Regions from separate parts of the Homo sapiens genome. Here region 2 is linked to region 1. The links are contacts of gene promoters, found by promoter capture Hi-C in blood cells and fetal thymus (Javierre and others, 2016). All regions are on one chromosome and are shown on one strand. Each heading gives the region's core, a stretch centred on a gene start or on the middle of the fragment in contact. The rest is flanking DNA. Distances are from core to core; before and after follow the strand shown.

Region 1 (7,125 bases), core at 1,830-4,329:
CGACCACCCCCTGAGTCACTCCTGATGTGGCTTTGCCTGTTGACAGATGGGAGTTATTTTTGTGATATATCATAGAGAATTGGGTCTCTTCTCCTCCCACTTCCTGTAGGGTCCTAGACTTCTATTTCCACTTCCCCTTTCCAGACACAAAGAACAGGAATGAGAGAGAGCAGGACATGGAGAGACTCTTCCTGAGGCCAGTGAGGCGTGCAAGTGCCAGCCATTCCTTTTGGGGTTTTTTTTCACAATTTTAATATTTTATCCATTAATGAATTTGTTTTGCATTCAATTTTTACTTTTTTTAAAAGATTATTGCATTGCAATATGATTTCATTTGATTGCTGACTTGCTGGGCTTTTTCTTTTTTTTAATTTGATGCTCAAAGCAAGTATCTCAGTTGTGTGACTCCAGTTCAGCCCTGCAAAGAAAGGCGCTTGTCTCCCTAAACACACCTGTCCGGCCCCATCCTGTCCCCTCTGAGATCCACTCCTGCCCTCTCCCCACCCCACAACCCTTCCCTGGCAGGAAGAGGACAGTGGTGCTGTGGGTCCCAGGGAAGTTCCAGACCTCACAGCTGAGCACAGACCAGAGCGGAGCTCCTCTCTGAAGGTCCACGCTCAGCAGTTACTAAGGGTGGAGGAGGTGTGTTCTCCTCTCCAGCCCCTCCCCAGCATACTGGTGCACTCACTCTGCAGGGAGACGTTCAGGTAGACCTGCTGAGAGCCGAGAGGGTTCTGAGCTCTGCAGGTGAATTCAGCTGCATCCCTCAGGTGCACCCAAGGCAGCTCCAGCACCCCCGGGTTTGAGGGCTGTGAGGGGCACAGGGTCAGGCCTCTCCAGCTCAGGCTCAGCCTGGCAGGGGGATTGCTGTCAACTGCATCAACTGCACAGACCAGGCGCAGAGACTGGCCCTCTGGGAGTGACAGAGATGAGCCATTTCCCAAGACTGTGGATACTGTAGAAAAAGAGACAGAGGGTCAGAGAGATACATAGATCTGGAGAAAAAGGAAGGATACAGAAAGAGACTGATGACAGCAACTGACACACAGACATAGACTGAAGTTCTGGAAACACACACTTTCACCACTCACTGCTGGGAATGTAAACTTCTCCCCGCTTCATCGAGAACAGTTTGGGCTTATCTTTCAAAATAAGAAAGAACATATAATGTAGCTACATTTTGCTTTTAGGAACTTAACCCACAGGCTTAGATATTCCTGTGGAAGTAGATACAAGATTGTTCTATCCTGCCGTAGGATGAAATTAGTGCCGTGATCTTCCATTAGGAGATGCCACAAAATCAGAGTCCATCCATGCAGTGGACTCACACACAGCCCTAGAGGAGGGTGCGGACAGTCTCACTACGGACGTCAAACCACCTCTGAGATCCTCCAGGTGTACAAACCGAGACTCAGGGCAGCCTGGATGGACAGTGGTTGGTTCTGGGGAGGGGGGCAGGCATCGGAGGAGAGCCTTTGCTCTGCAATTTGAATTTTTGCCCATGGACATTTATCACCTGTCCAGAAGTACTTAGATCAGAACTATCAGAAATAAACAGATAAGGGTGGAGATGTATTCAGGAGATACATGAGAAGGAGCCTCAAAGCCTGGTCCTGCTGTGTGAATGCCACCCTCTTCTTGTTTGAGGCTGAGGGGGGGGTGTGTGGGGGAGTCCAAGGGAGGTGATGGGAGGATGGGAACAAGTGGCCTTGGGGCCTAAGGATACAGAGGGGCCCTGAGTTCACCCACAAGGACATCCCTGTTTGCCAAAGTGAGTCCAGGTTGAGGAATAAGCCAGCCCCATCCTGACCTGAAGGCCCTGCTCCTCCAGCCCCAGGGAGGGAGCTCCATCCTACCTGTGCCGTCTCCTTGGAAGACAGTCATGGTCAAGTTCTGAGGCGGGTCTGGGACAGAAAGACATGGAGACCCGCATCACTGTGAGGGCTGGGGACACTGGCCCTGTCTGTCCCCAGGAGCCGCATAAACAGGGAAGGCAGAGCCAGTGTCCTCCTGACCCCACCACCAGCCCAGATTCCGGGACCCAGCACCCAGTGTCCAGGCTTGACGCTCACCCCATCAGGGACCCAGGCGTCCCGGCCCAGCACTCACAGGACACGTTGAGATGGACGGTCTTGTTCGTGGTCACGCTGGCCCCAGGGAAGGTCACCTGACAGGTGAGGCTGGTGCCATGGTCCTGGGGCTGTGGGATGAGGGTGAGCACCGAGGAGCGGGTGGTGGAGGGGTCCAGGGGGGACACGGAGGTCCCTATCCAGGAGATCATAGGGGGTGTCCCCTGCTCACAGGCCCAGGGCACAGAGCAGGTCAGATTCTGGGGGCAGCCGGACTCCAGGGTGCCTGGGATGAGGATGTTGGGCCTGTGGGTCAAGGCTGGTGAAGAGAGGGGGACTCAGGATCAGGTCAGAGGATCCATGGTGCAGCCCTGGGGGGAGCTCAGGCTCTGGTCCAGCTCCTGCCCTGAGCCAACTCGCTTCACCCTAAGCCCTCTCCTGGGGCAGGGGCTCCATCCCAGCCTTTCCCTGCCGCCCCCATGACCTTTCCCTGTGGCCTTTCCTGGAGCCTGTGCCTTACCTGTCACATTCACAGAGAGCCGGTGATGTTTATAATTCCATTTTATACTTCCTTTCTCCATACGAAAGAAGTATCTCCCCGCATCACTTCTTCTGGCATCTCTGATGCTCAGGGTGCAATTCTTGGTATGTGGGTCCCCAAGGAGGTGGAATCGGTCCCGAGTCTCCTCCCACACTGCCCGAGCTGGGTTGTTTGTGGCCACTGGAGCATCCTGGTCTGTATTGGCCCCTTCCCGGAACCAGTAGCCATGAACTACTGGGCCAGGGTAAATCCAGCCATGCGAGGGGTAGGAGAAGGAGCAGGGCACATGGACACACAGGCCTTCCTGCACCGTCACGGAACTCTGCATCGTCAGCAGTTTACTTGTCTGTCCTTCCGCCCTCTCCCTCCCCCAGAGCAGGGGCAGCAGCAGCAGCAGCATGTCTGGGGTTAGAGGTGCCAGGGCCGCGAGGGAACGTCTGTTCCTCAGGGTTCTTCTCTCAGGAACTGCGGGCTCAAGACTTAGAGGAGGCCCTACAGGAAGACAGGGGCGAGGTCGGAACAGTGACCTCCTCAGAGGAGGAACTTTACACCCAGACACTGTCAGGCCCGGGTCAGCCCTGGGAGATCCACCGTCCACCACCCCATGTTCACTCCTGGGTCCCTGAGGCCAGAGCGGGAGACAGACTCACCCAGATTCCCACCCCATGCAGGGCCCACCCCACCTCCTGCCTCCCTCTCAATGCCCTTCCCCTTAGGTGACATTTTCTGCAGGGTGAAAATGAGTCCCATCTGGCCAGACCCCTGAGTCAGAGGCTGTGGATATCTGCGTAGCTCAGAGGTGGGACTTGGGGCCATGAGAGATGGGGGTGCAGGTGGGGTGAGCAGGCAGCCTCTCATCCCCCCCAAGCAAGCACGAGGTGGGCACCCCCTTTCTGCACAACGAGGTCAACACAGCAGAGCTGGACACTGTCCCCAAGGGGTCACTGTGCGGAGGGGAGACATGGAGGCTCCTGACGTCTGAGCTGTCCACGGCAGGAGCTTCAGTTGGGGGGCACAGGCAGGATGGGGTCACTCTCCCGTAGGTCAGGGGTTCAATCTCAGGAGGACTGAGCAGAGGGACATGGGGCTGTGGAGGTGAGGATTCTATGTGTTGATACACGCCAAGGACACAGAGGGGAGCCTGGCTCGCAGGAGGTCTGGGAAACTGAGGCTGTGACTGTTGTACTGTGGGGCTTGGAAGGGAGGAAATTCGGAAGAAAAGGGGCAGATTTCAAAAGGGAAGATATTTCTCCTTTCCTCACTGCACCACGAAGGGTTTCTTCACCACCGATGTCTCGCTCAGCCACACTTCCCTGGTTACTCCAGAACATGAGGGATCAGCTGGCCCTGGGGCTTTGCTTCTGCAAGCTCTGCTCCCAGGGGTCCCGGTGAACAGGAGATGTGGAGTGAGGACACCAGCCCCGGGGCATGCACCCTCCGCGATGGGCAGGATTTCATGGGAGAAGAAACATGCACCTGAATTCAGCAGAAGATTTTTTGTAACTGTGTGGCTGGGCTGGGAGGAACTGGGAGTATCCTGTGTGGTGGAGCCTCCTTAGACCGATGTCAGTTTTCTAGAAATATTTTTGGGAGAAATATAAGCCATATAGATAAAAATGTCTTCCCCCCAAGAAAAAATCTCAGCGGTTTACACATATGAACATGCTTAGAGAAACAGAACACTGGGGATGCCGCAACACCTCCTCTTTGTTACCCCACTTCCTGTCAGCCACACCCCACTTCCTCCTGAAGCAGCCCCAGCCTCACTTTAACGCTAATGGTCTCCATGCTTTTCTAGGTAGTTTTATCATCTGTGCACGTTGCCGTGAATACCTCAGGCCCCCATGTTTGCCCAGTCGCTCCCTGGGAAGTTGCAGCATCTCAACTGCAATGGTCAGAAGGGCTGAGCCATGGCTGACAGTGTTGTCCTGCATCTGTTCTGCAGGGCTGGGTGTCCACATCTGAGTTCTGTCTTGAGCAGGAGGGGCTCAGTCAGGCCTCTCAGCACTGCTCCCCTGGGGCCCTCCACACCTGCAGAGCCAACACGGGCCTCAGATTAGCATCGGCCACTTCAATTCTAACTCAGGCGGGACAGGACAGCTCAGCCCCACCTGGAACTCGGGGAACAATCCTTCGGCTTCCCTAGAAAAGAGCAGGCCTGCTCACCTGGAGTAGTAGCTCCAGGTGAGGCCATGGGGGTTGGGGGGAAGCCAGTGCCCAGGATGGCCCCCTGATCAGGTGAGAACCAGGGGCCAGAAGCCCTCCTGCTTTTCACTCACACATCTGTAGCCAGAGGGGCTTCCTGGGAAAGGGTAGAAGCGTGTGAGATTCTGTTCCCAGGCCTCCACCCCTCTGACAGCCCAAACACCCGACTAGGCTGCCTGCCTCAGCAGCTGTCCTGCAACTCACTCTGCACAGAGGCTCAGGGAAATGTGCTGAAATCGCAGTGGGTGGTGAGCCCAACAGGTCAATGCTCCTCCGTCCCAGCCCCTATCTGAGGCAGCTCCAGGCCCCCGGGTGCTGAGAGCTGGGAGGAATTCAGTGTTCTTCCCTCTCAGGACCAGCTCAGCCGGGCGGGGTTGGGAGGTGGGGTGCTGTCAGCCACACAGACCACAGGGACTCTCCCTCCAGGACAGGCAGTGGTGTACCATTGTTCAGGGTCTTTGGGGCTGGACGAAAAAAACAGAGAAAGCAGGAAGAGTGGTGCTGAGAGGTCGGTTTCTCCCTTACCTCCCATTCGGAATGAGACAGAAGACACATGACTGTTTGACTCATGCTTTTTTTTTTTTTTTTTGAGATGGAGTCTTGCTCTGTCACCCAGGCTAGAGTACAGTGCCGTGATCTCAGCTCACTGCAAGCTCCGCCTCCCACGTTCAAGCGATTCTCCTGCCTCAGCCTCCTGAGTAGCTGGGATTACAGGCATGTGCCGCCACGCCAGGTTAATTTTTGTATTTTTAGTAGAGACGGGATTTCACCATGTTGGTCAGGCTGGTCTTGAACTCCTGACCTCGTGATCTGCCCACCTCAGCCTCCCAAAGTGCTGGCATTACAAGCGTGAGCCACCAAGCCTGGCCCGGCTCATGCTCTTATGTACACAAATCCCGGAGTCCACGCTAGCTGACAGACCCTGGAGGGAAGGAGGCTGAACTGAGATTGGAAGGGGGAGTGGGTCATATTGACGCAAGACAGACAGGCATCACAAGTGAAGGACGAGGGATGTGCAAAGGCTCTGAAACAGTCTGGCAGATGAAGAGACCTGCACATATATCTGGGGTCTTCCAAGGGGACATGGAGGTGTTGGGGCATGACCAGCTGAGGAGCTTAGACTGAGGGTGCCGAGGAGTCACAGGGGACTCTGGGCCAGGAAGGGGTGGGGCTGGTACTGGGTACAGGAAGGTCTTTCTGGGCTTGTGCTATCAGGGGCACAGCATGAAGGGAAGATGGGAGGCTGGGGAGGGGCATGGAACAATGATCAAGACAGCAAAGAGGCTGGGTGCGGCGGCTCAGATCTGTAACCCCAGCACTTTGGGAGGCCAAGGCGGTTGGATCACCTGAGGTCAAGGAGTTCGAGACCACCCTGACCAACATGGTGAAAAGTTGTTTCTACTAAAAGTACAAAAATTAGCCAGGCATGGTGGCATGCTCCTGTAATCCCAGCTACTCAGAAGGCTGAGGCAGGAGAATCACTTGAACCAAGGAGGCGGAGGTTGCAGTGAGCCGAGATCCTGCCACCGCACTCCAGCCTGGACGACAAGAGCGAAACTTCATCTTCAAAAAAAAAAAAAAAAAAAAGACAGCAAAGGGCCTGGTCATGCTGATGGAGGACAGGGGACTAAGCAAGGAGGGCATGACGGGAGACATTGTTCAGGAAGGGAAGTTACAGCACCCACTGGCTCATGAGTACAGTGGATGAAAAGGGTGACATTTGGAGGAAGTGCTGCATCCTGAATGGGGTAAATGGGGGAAGAGAGACGCCATGCATAAGAGGAGGATCAAGGGGCAGAAAGTAGGAGAGGCATCAAGACAGAGCTCAAAGCTGAGCCAGGCAAGGGTGAGCCGGGCATGGTGGCAGGTGCCTGTAATCCCAGCTACTCCAGAGGCCGAGGCATAAGAATCACCTGAACTCGGGAGGCATAGGTTACAGTGAGCCGAGATCATGTCACTGCATTCCAGCCTGGGTGACAGAGCGAGACTCCATCTCAAAACAAAAAACAAAAAAACTCATACTCTGGCCAGGCACAGTGGTGCACGCCTGTAATCCCAACACTTTGGGAGGCCGAGGCAGGAGGATCACTTGAGCCTAAGAGTTCAACACCAAACTGGGTGACACAGTGAGAACCCATCTCTGCCCAAAATTTAAAAATTAGCTGGACATGGTGGTGCCACCTGTAGTCTCTGCTACTTGGGAGGCTGAGGCAGGAGGATCGCTTGAGCCTGGAAGGCGGAGGCTGCAGTGAGCAGAGATTGCGCCACTGCACTCAAGCCTGGGTGACATAGCGAGACTCTGTCTTAAAA
Region 2 (7,125 bases), core at 3,219-5,718, 42 kb after region 1:
TTGGGGAGGCCAAGGCAGGCAAATCACTTCAGCCCTGGAGTTGGAGACCAACCTGGGCTACATCGTGAGACCCTGTCTCTACAAAAAAATACAAAAATTAACTGACTGTGGTAGCACGTGCCTGTAGTCCCAGCTACTCAGGAGGCTGAGGTGGGAGGATGGTTGAGCCCAGGAGTTCAAGGCTGCAGTGAGCTGTGATTGCACCACTGCACTCCAGCCTGGGCAACAGAGTGACACCCTGTTTAAAAAGAAAAAAAAAAGCTCTCAACTTTCCTGACACTGCTCCCTCCTGGTGTCCCTCTTAGCTCTTCAATCACTCCTACCCCTGGCATAACTGTTTCTTACCCCCTGAGCTGTGAGTCTTCAGTGGGGTCCTCTCACTGTATACCCTCTCCCTAGGTGGGCTCCACACCGCTGGTATCCAGCACCATCCGTGCCGTGATGCCCCATCACTCTCCTGAGCTCCAGACCTGAGTATCCCGAAGGATTCTGCTCTCCCCTACTCAGGATCATGCCACCATCCCCCATCACCCTCGGAGTAAAATTCTCGCCCCTGCAGCACCAGGGCCCTGCTCATCTTGGCCACTCCTCTCTCCTACGCTCTGAGCTCTCTCACCATCCTCCTGCCCCACCATCCCTACTCGAAACCACTCACCTCCCTCCTACCCTCTCCACACACTGTCCATCCTCCCTGGCAAACTCCTATTCATCTGCAGGAACCTGCTAAGACTGCCCCTCCTCCTGGAACCCTTTCCCACACCTGAGGCTCCATCCAGCCCCTCAGCCTCCTCCAGGGGAGCACACGTGACACCAGATGGAGTTTCCTGTTGCCCCGCTGGCCTGTTTCACCAGACCGTGAGTTCACAGAGGAGCAGCGACTGAGGCTCTGTGTTCATTCATTCATCAGATGTTTATCGATGCCCGTGGCACAGCAAACAAGACCGTGCCAAGCAGGTGGTGGAGTGGTGAGCGAGATACCCTGGGAACCTAGCATGTGGTGGGAAGAGGGCCCAGCAACCTGGCCACGGCACGGCAGGTGCTGAGGTCCGGGCTGGGGACGGCAAGTCCTTGGGAGCCACCGGCGGTGAACTGGGCCTCATCAGCTGCATCTCCAGCTGTCTCCCTACCTTTGAGCTGAAGGCCTTGGGGAGCCTTCCAGTCATTCTGTGCCCTGGCTCAGGCTCTGCATAAACACAAGAACCCCCTCTTTATTTATTTGTTTGTTTATTTATTTATTTTGCAACAGAGTCTCGCTCTGTCACCCAGGCTGGAGTGCAGTGGCACAATCTCAGCTCACTGCAACCTCTGCCTCCCGGGTTCAAGCGATTCTCCTGCCTCAGCCTCCTGAGTAGCTGGGGCTACAGGCACCCACCACCATGCCCAGCTCAGTTTTTTTGTATTTTTAGTAGAGATTGGGTTTCACCATGTTTTCCAGGCTGGTCTTGAACTCCTAACCTCAGGTGATCCACCTTGGCCTCCCAAAGTGCTGGGATTACAGGCGTGAGCCACAGCACCTGCCCCCCTGCCACCCTTTAAAGAAAGGATTCTCTTGGATCTCAGGGATAGAGTGGCATGAAGGAGCCACTCCCAGGCTCCTGGGGGTTGACCAAGGCCTTCTGCTTAAGTAGGGTGTTCTTTTTAGGAACAGGGAGACCTTGTGTTTACTAGGAAATTCTGTTTTATTTTTAACTTTTTCCTTTGAGATAATTACAGACTCACAGGAGGCTACACACACAGCATAGGGAATCTCCCTCACCTACTTCTCCCCGTGGCGACACCTTGTGTAACTGTCGTTCAGAATGGAAACCAGGAAATCAACACAGAAACCAAACTATTAATGAGACTACAGATCACACTGCGCGTTCATTTTTCACACGCATTTCTTTGCACGTGTGTGTGTGCACGTGGGCTTCTGTGTCTCTTTATCTCATGTGTAGAATCGTGTAATCACCGCCACATCCAGTGCAAAGCTGATTCGTCACCACAGAGCAGCTCCCTCCTGCCACCCCATCCCTGGGTCCCAAGAGAACCCTTTCTTAAAAGAGGGAGTTCTTGACGGGTGTGGTGGCTCATGCCTGTAATCCTTGCACTTTGGGAGGCCAAGGAGGGTGGATCATTTGAGGTCAGGAGTTTGAGACCAGACTGGCCAACATGGTGAAACCCTGTCTTTACTAAAAATACAAAAAAATGAGCGGGGCATGGTGGTGGGTGCCTATAGCCCCAGCTACTCAGGAGGCTGAGGCAGGAGAATCGCTTGAACCCAGGAGGCAGAGGTTGCAGTGAGCCGAGATTGAGCCACTGCACTCCAGCCGGGGCTAAAGAGTGAGACTCTGTCTCAAAAAAAAAAAAAAGAAAAAGAAAAAAAGAAAAAAAAATAAAATAAATAAATAAATAAAATAAATTTAAAAATTTAAAAATAAAGAGGGGGTTCTTGTGTTGATGCCGAGCCTGAACCAAGGCAGAGGAGGCCGGGAAGGCTTCCCAAGGCCTTCAGCTCAAAGCAGGGAGGCCCATAGTTAAACAGAAACAGTTCAGGAATCACAGAAAGGCACCTGGGGAGAGATGGGTGTGTGGCTCCAGATGCAGGTGCCCAGACAGTGCGTCCCCAGGTGTACAGACAGACCCAGGCCAAGCTCCAGCTCAAAGAGCCAGCCTAGGGGGGTGCCGAGGTGGAGGGAGGCTGAGTCAGGCTGAGGCCGGGGAACAGTTGGGGTAGCCAAGGGAGGCAAGCAGCCTCCTGAGTCACCACGTGGTCCAGGTACGGGGCTGCCCAGGCCCAGAGACGGACACAAGCACTGGGGAATTTAAGGGGCTAGGGGAGGGGCTGAGGAGGGTAGGCCCTCCCCCAAATGAGGATGGAACCCCCCCAACTCCAGAACCCCCCTGCAGGCTGGCCAGAATCCTTCCCCATCTCATTCACTCTGTCTCTCCTGCTCTCTGCCGTCTCCTATTTTGAATTTCCAACCCCGTCTGTTAAGACTGTCCTTCTGTCTCTGAATCTCTGTCCCCTTCTCTTTCTGGGTCTCTCTCCCTCTCCCTCTGGGTCTCTGTCCCCCTCTCTGGGTCTCTGTCACTCTCTCTTTGCATCTCCAGCTCTCACTTTGTCTCTGCACCTAGCAGATCCCAAGCTGGGGAATGCCAGTTCTGGCACCAACCTTCCTGCTCCCTGCTGGGGCCTCTGCTCCCCCATCTCTCAGGAGTCGAAAGTGAGAAAGCAAGGTGGGCAGCTCTGCTCCAGGTCCAGGTATCTCCCGCCCACCTCCTGCCCGTCCTCTATCCCACCCCTCCTCTCCATCTCTCCCTGGCGCTGCCATCTCTCATCTAGGCCTCCGTCTCCTCTGTCATTGTCCCCATCCCCTGTAGGTGCCCATCCTTCCCGTCTCCCCTCTGCCATCGGCCTGCCTGTCCCATCCTCTTTCTCCCACCATGTCCCGTTCTCTTCCACGTCTCATGCCCGCACTGCCTTCATCATCATCGCTGTTGTTCTGTGTGTGTTTGTGGTGAGTGCCGCATGGTGGGGGCGTCTCGGCCTCTCTCCTCTCTCTCCACTGTTTTCTCTTTCTGTGTGTCTGTTTCCATTCTATCTCCACCTTCTTCCCTCCGTCTTTTGCTTTTCTATCTCCACTTCTCCACACCCCTCTCTCCCTGCGTCTCTGTGTCTCCCTCTTCCTCTGTCTTGTTTTTTTCCCACCGTCTGCCTCTTCTGTTCCCTGTCACATCCAACTTCCACCGGTTTCTCCAGCTCTCTCCTCAGTTCCTTCTCTCATGAGCACACCTGCCTCTGTGCTCGTATTCCTGGACTCCTCTCTCTCCACTGTCATATCTTCTCATTCATTTTCCCAGTCTCTCTCTGTCTCTTGCTCTCCCCCTCTCTGTCACTCTGTCTCTGTCTCTCTCTTTCTCTCTCTCTCTCTGTGTCTCTCTGTCTGGCTCTCTCTCTGTCTCTCTCTCCATCTCTCTCTCTCTCTCCCCCCCGTCACCCTGTCTCTGTCTCTCTCTGTCTGTGTGTCTCTCTGTCTTTCTCTCTCTCCATCTCTCTCTGTCTCTCTCTCTCTCTCTCTCTCTCTCCCTCTCTCCCTCCTCCCGTGACTCCCTCTCTCAGTCCATCTCTTCCTCCCTCTCTCAGCCCCTTCGTGCCCTTTCCTCTGACACTCCCCACCCTGGTTTCCTGACTCCACCACTAGATCCACCACCTCCAGCAACTGGGAACCCTCCCCTGCCCACCCTGCCCTGGGGTCCCCTCCCAGGATTCCTTCTAGATTATAGCATCTTCCCTGGGCGGGTTCTCATGAACAATTGTGGCTGCTTTTTTGGCCAGACAGGGGAGGGAGGGGATGGGATCAGGGAGTCCTGGAATGGGAACTAGGCAATAAAAAAAAAAAAATGTCAGAAGCAGGGCGGCGGGAGGTGGGGGCAGGGCCAGCTGTCCTTACCAGGGATAAAAGGCTTTGCCAGTGTGACTAGGAAGAGAGACACCTCCCCTCCTTCCTTCATCAAGACATCAAGGAGGGACCTGTGCCCTGCTCCACATCCTCCCACCTGCCGCCCGCAGAGCCTGCAGGCCCCGCCCCCCTCGTCTCTGGTCCCTACCTCTCTGCTGTGTCTTCATGTCCCTGAGGGTCTTGGGCTCTGGGTAAGTGCCCCTTGCTGTCTCTGCCTCTCAGCCCCCGGTTCTGTTGAAGGTTCCTTCTCTCTCACTTTTTCTCTGCATTTGACAGGACCTGGCCCTCAGCCCCTAAAATGTTCCTCCTGCTGACAGCACTTCAAGTCCTGGCTATAGGTAAGAGAACGGTTGGGTATGACACAAGGGGGTCCCCTGGAGACTCTGAGAAGAGATGGGGATGGGTCCTTGGGGCCCCTGGATGCTCATGGTGACCTCATAAGAAAGAGCAGGGAGTGGTTTGGGGGTCATGGTGGGGGAACGTGCTGGAGGCCTAAATTCCTAGTTGTGGAGGTGCTAGGGAATTGTGGGGCCGGGGAGAGAGGTGTTTATAAGGTCTGGTGCAAAATACATAAGGAATCTTAGGGAACTATTAGGTCCTGAGTGGGTCATAGCAGAAAGATCACGGGGCTCTACCTGACTGTGTTAGGAAAGAAACAATGTCAGAAAGATGTTTTGTTGTCAGAGGGAAGGTGGAGAAGGATGATGGGATGGCGGGATCGTGGCATGGGGTGGCGGGATCGTGGCATGGGTGTGTGAGGTGGATGGGGGCAAGTGTGGGGCAAGAGATGGCGGATCCTTGGGGTCCCACTGAGTGGGAACGTTGGGGAGGAGACAGGGAGGTCCTTGAATGTGTTGGGGAAGGACTCATTGGGGGGAAATGTGGCATATTTCGAGAAGTGATCACAGAAATTATGGGAGCATAGAGCTAAGGGTCGTAGATGTAGCAAGGCCCTGGATAAGGTGGCCACGGCACAAAATAAGAGATGCTACGGAGGTGACTTGGGAGGTGAGTCAGAAAGCTCTCCGTGCTGGGGCAATAACGGGGTCAATATTGGGCATGTCTCACCCTGGGTGGGACAGATAGAGGCGGGCAGTTTAGGGGTTAGACCAAAAGGAAGGGGATTTGTCAGTTTTGGAATCCTACAAACTTGTGGAGTGGAGAGTGTTTGCTCATCTACTTTCCCCACCCAATCCTGTCCACTCCTAGCCATGACACAGAGCCAAGAGGATGAGAACAAGATAATTGGTGGCCATACGTGCACCCGGAGCTCCCAGCCGTGGCAGGCGGCCCTGCTGGCGGGTCCCAGGCGCCGCTTCCTCTGCGGAGGCGCCCTGCTTTCAGGCCAGTGGGTCATCACTGCTGCTCACTGCGGCCGCCCGTAAGTGACCCCCTCCCCTGTCCCTGTACCTAGTGAATTCCAGAGTCTAAAGCCCTAGAGCTGAGCTGAGAACCTGGATCTCTGTATAGAACCCAATGTAGTGGCTGGCTCCTGGTTTGAGGTCTAGAGAAGAGCCTGGAACAAAAACACAGCTCGGGATGTGGGCTCCTCCATAAATCTCGAACTCAGCATAGGTTCTGAAAGCAGATGGGCAGCTTGGAACCCATGGACCTGCTGAGAACCGAACATCTGATCCAGTGATTCTTCCAGAGGCCACACATTACATCGAGACCAAGCTTAGCCCATTCCAGATTGGTGGCTGAATTCAGGACCCCGTCTACATTCAGAAACTCAGGACACTACGTAGAACTCAGAGCCCAGTTCAGGACCTGCAGTCTAGCCATAAATCCAGAACTAGAACGCTGCTCACAGCTGGAACATACAACTCTAAGAATAGAGGCAAAACCTGGAGGCTGTTTCACACCCAAGGTTTAGTTCAGAGTCTAGTCTATAGCTCCGCTATGAGCAGACTTCAACCCAGTGTTTGAATCCCAGAATGTGGCGGGTGCGGTGGCTCATGCCTATAATCCTAGCACTTTGGGATGCTGAGGCAGGCAGATCACCTGAGGTCAGGAGTTCGAGACCAGCCTGAGCAACATAGAGAAACCCTGTCTCTACTAAAAATGCAAAATTAGCCAGGCATGGTGGCACATGCCTGTAATCCCAGCCACTCGGGAGGCTGAGGCAGGAGAATCACTTGAACCTGGGAGGCGGAGGTTGCAGTGAGTCAAGATCGCACCATTGCACTCCAGGCTAGGCAACAAGAGCGAAACTCCATATCAATCAATCAATCAATAAATCCCAGAATGCAGATCCTAATCAGAAGCCCCATATAAAACCTAGACCCCTCCTAAATTCTAGATCTGAACTTACAACCCAGACCCCAGCCAAGAGGTCAAAATGCCTATAAGCCATATCTATGCCATAAACAGGTCAGTCTAGAACCTAGAGATCAAAGCTCAGGCCAGAGTCTAGAATATAAAGGCCAGAATGCAAACCAGACTCTAGAATCTTGGATCCGGGCCATAACCTAGAGCTCCAACTAGAACCCAGAGCCCAACCTGAGGTCAAGGGCTAGGGCCAGAGTCCAGAACCAAGAGCCCTATAATCCAATATGAAACAGACCTGTAGAGGCTGGGTGCGGTGGCTCACGCCTGTAATCCCAGCACTTTGGGAGGCTGAGGCGGGAGAATCACTTGAACTGGGAGTTGGAGGTCGAGAGTGAGCTGAGATCGTGCCACT

Evidence for each region. Contacts are between HindIII fragments. The CHiCAGO score rates a contact against its expected background, and 5 or more counts as called.
Region 2: the fragment with the promoter of KLK14 here is called in contact with the fragment with the promoter of SIGLEC9 in region 1 in 11 of 17 cell types (naive CD8 T cells, fetal thymus, non-activated CD4 T cells and 8 more); the score reaches 16.7 in naive CD8 T cells.

Annotation. Positions count from the first base shown.
Region 1 is chr19:51,120,860-51,127,984 of GRCh38, reverse strand. SIGLEC9 (sialic acid binding Ig like lectin 9) reads right to left here and starts at 3,079. Exons shown (of 7, transcript NM_014441.3): 1 at 2,590-3,079; 2 at 2,110-2,388; 3 at 1,857-1,904; 4 at 689-955; 5 at 1-36. The coding sequence starts at 3,010. The HindIII fragment of the contact is 17,590 bases long and covers 1-7,125 here.
Region 2 is chr19:51,080,230-51,087,354 of GRCh38, reverse strand. KLK14 (kallikrein related peptidase 14) reads left to right here and starts at 4,468. Exons shown (of 6, transcript NM_001369775.2): 1 at 4,468-4,633; 2 at 4,719-4,780; 3 at 5,652-5,823. The coding sequence starts at 4,741. RefSeq lists a silencer at 469-763. The HindIII fragment of the contact is 24,105 bases long and covers 1-6,121 here.